Regions from separate parts of the Homo sapiens genome. Here region 2 is linked to region 1. The links are contacts of gene promoters, found by promoter capture Hi-C in human tissues and cell types (Jung and others, 2019). All regions are on one chromosome and are shown on one strand. The core of a region is centred on a gene start or on the middle of the fragment in contact, and the rest is flanking DNA. Distances in the headings are between cores, read along the strand shown.

The links. Contacts are between HindIII fragments. The study calls those that stand out against the background at their distance.
Region 2: a fragment that was not itself captured here is called in contact with the fragment with the promoter of EGFR in region 1 in 1 of the 25 tissues and cell types used here (IMR-90 fibroblasts).

The regions. Positions count from the first base shown.
Region 1 is chr7:55,017,589-55,020,307 of GRCh38, forward strand. It overlaps EGFR (epidermal growth factor receptor), which reads left to right and starts at 1,429. Exons shown (of 28, transcript NM_005228.5): 1 at 1,429-1,777. The coding sequence starts at 1,690. It overlaps LOC105375284 (a long non-coding RNA gene), which reads right to left and starts at 1,334. Exons shown (of 4, transcript XR_007060329.1): 1 at 1-1,334. RefSeq lists an enhancer at 2,429-2,719. The HindIII fragment of the contact is 5,592 bases long and covers 1-2,719 here.
Region 2 is chr7:54,843,838-54,846,537 of GRCh38, forward strand. No RefSeq gene overlaps it. Among named protein-coding and RNA genes, the nearest start is that of SEC61G-DT, 86 kb to the left of the region's middle. The HindIII fragment of the contact is 8,231 bases long and covers 1-2,700 here.

The sequences.
Region 1 (2,719 bases), core at 179-2,678:
GTTTTGTTTTCTGTGTTTCTACGGACTGCTCTCAGCCCAGGTGTGCAGGAAGCACACACATGCCTGCAGAGCCTTCATGGCCTCTGCATTCAGGGCATGACTTCAACGCACAGTGGCTGTACTGATTTGTTAAAACAAAGGAACAGATTACTTCTCCTAATTCACAGGGAAGTTCCAGGTTGTGCGGGCAGTGAGCAGACCTGTGTCTGTCTGCGCTTGCCCTGGTGAAAAACCCCACCGTTCAGGCTGCAGGGTGCGAGACCCAGGCACAAACATTTTGCTGGATGAGGAGGAAAGATGTAAGGTTGCTCCCCTTCAGAGACAGCAAAGGGCAGGTCTGTAGCTTCACTTACTTCAGGATTGTGATTTTTGACAGAGCCGAGAGATCAGGGTTGTTGAACCAGGCCTGAAGGTCCTAGTGAATCTCGTGAAGAGAGGAGGGGTCTGGCTGTAACATGGACCTAGAGGACATTTTTACTGCAGGAGAAGGAACAGTGGGGATGGGGTGGACTTGCCAAAGGAATATAGCTCAAGTTCCTGCAGCCCAAAAAAGCTCAGTTTCTTTTGGCCAAAGCTTCCGCGAGTTTCCCTGGCATTTCTCCTGCGGGAGCTACAGGGGCAGTGGGACACTTAGCCTCTCTAAAAGCACCTCCACGGCTGTTTGTGTCAAGCCTTTATTCCAAGAGCTTCACTTTTGCGAAGTAATGTGCTTCACACATTGGCTTCAAAGTACCCATGGCTGGTTGCAATAAACATTAAGGAGGCCTGTCTCTGCACCCGGAGTTGGGTGCCCTCATTTCAGATGATTTCGAGGGTGCTTGACAAGATCTGAAGGACCCTCGGACTTTAGAGCACCACCTCGGACGCCTGGCACCCCTGCCGCGCGGGCACGGCGACCTCCTCAGCTGCCAGGCCAGCCTCTGATCCCCGAGAGGGTCCCGTAGTGCTGCAGGGGAGGTGGGGACCCGAATAAAGGAGCAGTTTCCCCGTCGGTGCCATTATCCGACGCTGGCTCTAAGGCTCGGCCAGTCTGTCTAAAGCTGGTACAAGTTTGCTTTGTAAAACAAAAGAAGGGAAAGGGGGAAGGGGACCCTGGCACAGATTTGGCTCGACCTGGACATAGGCTGGGCCTGCAAGTCCGCGGGGACCGGGTCCAGAGGGGCAGTGCTGGGAACGCCCCTCTCGGAAATTAACTCCTCAGGGCACCCGCTCCCCTCCCATGCGCCGCCCCACTCCCGCCGGAGACTAGGTCCCGCGGGGGCCACCGCTGTCCACCGCCTCCGGCGGCCGCTGGCCTTGGGTCCCCGCTGCTGGTTCTCCTCCCTCCTCCTCGCATTCTCCTCCTCCTCTGCTCCTCCCGATCCCTCCTCCGCCGCCTGGTCCCTCCTCCTCCCGCCCTGCCTCCCCGCGCCTCGGCCCGCGCGAGCTAGACGTCCGGGCAGCCCCCGGCGCAGCGCGGCCGCAGCAGCCTCCGCCCCCCGCACGGTGTGAGCGCCCGACGCGGCCGAGGCGGCCGGAGTCCCGAGCTAGCCCCGGCGGCCGCCGCCGCCCAGACCGGACGACAGGCCACCTCGTCGGCGTCCGCCCGAGTCCCCGCCTCGCCGCCAACGCCACAACCACCGCGCACGGCCCCCTGACTCCGTCCAGTATTGATCGGGAGAGCCGGAGCGAGCTCTTCGGGGAGCAGCGATGCGACCCTCCGGGACGGCCGGGGCAGCGCTCCTGGCGCTGCTGGCTGCGCTCTGCCCGGCGAGTCGGGCTCTGGAGGAAAAGAAAGGTAAGGGCGTGTCTCGCCGGCTCCCGCGCCGCCCCCGGATCGCGCCCCGGACCCCGCAGCCCGCCCAACCGCGCACCGGCGCACCGGCTCGGCGCCCGCGCCCCCGCCCGTCCTTTCCTGTTTCCTTGAGATCAGCTGCGCCGCCGACCGGGACCGCGGGAGGAACGGGACGTTTCGTTCTTCGGCCGGGAGAGTCTGGGGCGGGCGGAGGAGGAGACGCGTGGGACACCGGGCTGCAGGCCAGGCGGGGAACGGCCGCCGGGACCTCCGGCGCCCCGAACCGCTCCCAACTTTCTTCCCTCACTTTCCCCGCCCAGCTGCGCAGGATCGGCGTCAGTGGGCGAAAGCCGGGTGCTGGTGGGCGCCTGGGGCCGGGGTCCCGCACGTGCGCCCCGCGCTGTCTTCCCAGGGCGCGACGGGGTCCTGGCGCGCACCCGAGGGGCGGGCGCTGCCCACCCGCCGAGACTGCACTGTTTAGGGAAGCTGAGGAAGGAACCCAAAAATACAGCCTCCCCTCGGACCCCGCGGGACAGGCGGCTTTCTGAGAGGACCTCCCCGCCTCCGCCCTCCGCGCAGGTCTCAAACTGAAGCCGGCGCCCGCCAGCCTGGCCCCGGCCCCTCTCCAGGTCCCCGCGATCCTCGTTCCCCAGTGTGGAGTCGCAGCCTCGACCTGGGAGCTGGGAGAACTCGTCTACCACCACCTGCGGCTCCCGGGGAGGGGTGGTGCTGGCGGCGGTTAGTTTCCTCGTTGGCAAAAGGCAGGTGGGGTCCGACCCGCCCCTTGGGCGCAGACCCCGGCCGCTCGCCTCGCCCGGTGCGCCCTCGTCTTGCCTATCCAAGAGTGCCCCCCACCTCCCGGGGACCCCAGCTCCCTCCTGGGCGCCCGCGCCGAAAGCCCCAGGCTCTCCTTCGATGGCCGCCTCGCGGAGACGTCCGGGTCTG
Region 2 (2,700 bases), core at 90-2,589, 170 kb before region 1:
TTTAACACTATTAGTTCTCTCTTAAAATGAACATGCTCATTAAATTAATTCAAATCAATATTAGGCTGCCCTTTTAAAAAACTCAGAGCAAACAAGAACAATTAAATTATGTATTTACTTGCCTTTGACCTTGAGCAATTGACCTTTCTCTAGACAGGGCTAACAATTTTACTTGGATTTGAGTAGCTGCAAAAATTGCTGAGAAGTCAATTTAAAGTCTTAGGAAAACGTTTTATCAGACTGAAGTCTCCTAAATCATTTGTCAATCACTTGTTGGTAGTCATTTAAGTCGAGCTCAATCGCCCTAAGCCACATATTCATTTTAATCCATGAATAATGTAGTAATGACTCATTGACAGCTATTAACCAGCTCCTAGAGTTTTCATACCTGCAACTTTTAAGGGATTCTAAGCAAAGCATTCTAGAAATAAAACAATATAAATAGAAAGTAGTCATTTCACTTTCATTTTAGGGTAGATGACATGATACAAGGATGACTTTAGTAATAATCAATTGCTCTATGATACCTAGAGTTGTCCCTTGGTGAAACTTGGTTTCACAGCTTCTACCTCTCAAATGTATCCAGAATCCAACCACTTCTCACTACTTTCCTTCTCACCACTTGTGAAATAAAACCCCTGGCCCTGAATTTAAATCCTGCTCCAAGCCAAATCATCATGCCTCCCCTGGATTTTGGCATTAACTCCCTAAACTGTCTCCTAAATTGCCACCTTTGTCCACAGTATTCTCAACAGGGAAGCCAGGTGATCCTTACAAAATGTAAGTGATACCATGTCATCTGCCATCTACAAATCCTATTCCTTTCGCTCAAGGCCTTTCTTCCTATGGGTGTGAGGCAGCAGGTTCACTGCTTCCCTGTGATTCTGACTTCGTCTCCTCCTGTTCTCCTCCTCACTCATGCCACTCAACCCGCAGGCTCCCTGTTGTTGACCCCGCCATGCCCTGCCTGCACACGAAAATAGTTCTCTTTAGCCTGCTCTGTGAATTCCTCAGAATTTATAACTTCCAGCACCCCATATGATTTGTATATTTATTATCTTTTGTGTAGTATTTATTATTTATCTTACCTGATGAGAATGTAAGCTCTCTAAGCAAGTGGAGCTTATTGTCCGCTCTGTTTGAACAAAACAGATCAGCATCTGGTAGGTTGTAGCACTCAATACATATTTATGGAATGAACAAATGAATGAATGAATGATTAAATGCCATTAGCTGGACCCATGCTTCCATGGTCAAACATGATGCTAGGACATTCAGTTCAGTCAGCGTTTGTATACGGTATTGGTCTAAAGGCAAATGATGACCATACATAAGAAATTAAAATACATCATAATGAATGGCATTAAAAGTCAATAATACTAGCTTGAAAGACAATAAGATAAGATGGTGGAAATAGACCCTGGTACTGAAATTGACTAAACTTTAGTTAAAAGAAATCCCTGTTCCACCATTTATCAGCAAGATGACCTTTGGCAAGTCACTTTAGCATACTAATCCTTAGCTCTCTCCCATATACAATAGGGAAATCTGTGCTGCCTACTTAATCTGGTTGTTATGAAGAGTAAATGAGTTTACATATTTAAGATGCTTAATATAATTTCTTGATATGTAATAACTATTGGGGGAAGTAATAACATAGTAATTTAAAAAATGTAGAGAGAGCCTCAGAACAATCTGAAAAACACATCCCTCTTAGTTATTATAAACAATTAGTTTTGAATCAATAATGCCTGATGAATAATAGTTTTTTTAAAATGGGCAAGAATTGACCATTGATCTTTTAGAATTTCAGAGTTGGAAGTTGCATAACTATCTAATATTTGGTTAATTCTAAACCTTTTAGCCTTGGTCAGCAGTCCTCAAAACTTTTGGTCTCAGGACTCCTTCATACTCCTAAAAATAACTGGAGACCCCAAAGAGTGTTTCCTTATGTGGGTTGTAGGTATTGATATTTTCTATATTCAAAATTAAAACTGATAACTTAAAACAATTATTTATTAATTCATTTAAATAATATCAATAATACACCCATTAGATAGTAAAATAAATTTTCTTTACAAAACTACATTTTTTAAACAAAAAATTTAGTGAGAAGGGTAGCATTGTTTCACAGTTTTGCAAATCTCTTTTTTTTTGAGATGGAGCCTTGCTCTGTCCCCAGGCTGGAGTGCAGTGGCACGATCTTGGCTCACTGCCACCTTCGTCTCCCAGGTTCAAGCGATTCTCCTGCCACAGCCTCCTGAGTAGCTGGGATTACAGGCACGCACCACCATGCCTGGCTAATTTTTGTATTTTTAGTGGAGATGGGGTTTCACCATGTTGGTCAGGCTGGTCTCGAACTCCTGACCTCGTGATCCACCTGCCTCGGCCTCCCAAAGTGCTGGGATTACAGGTGTGATCCACTGCGCCTGGCCTTTGCAAATCTCTTTAATGTCTAGGTTAATAGAATAAAACTGGATTCTTCTATCTGCTTTTGCATTCAATCTGTTGTGATGTCATACATAATGCAGGCTTTGCAAACCCCCCTCAATCACTCATGACAAAATGAGAGTGGAAAAGACAAATAACATATTAGTAATACAGTCATGTGTTGCTTAACCAAAGGAATATGTTCTGAGAAATTCATTGTTTGGTGATTTTGTCATTGTGTGAACATCATAGGCTGCACTTACACAAGAT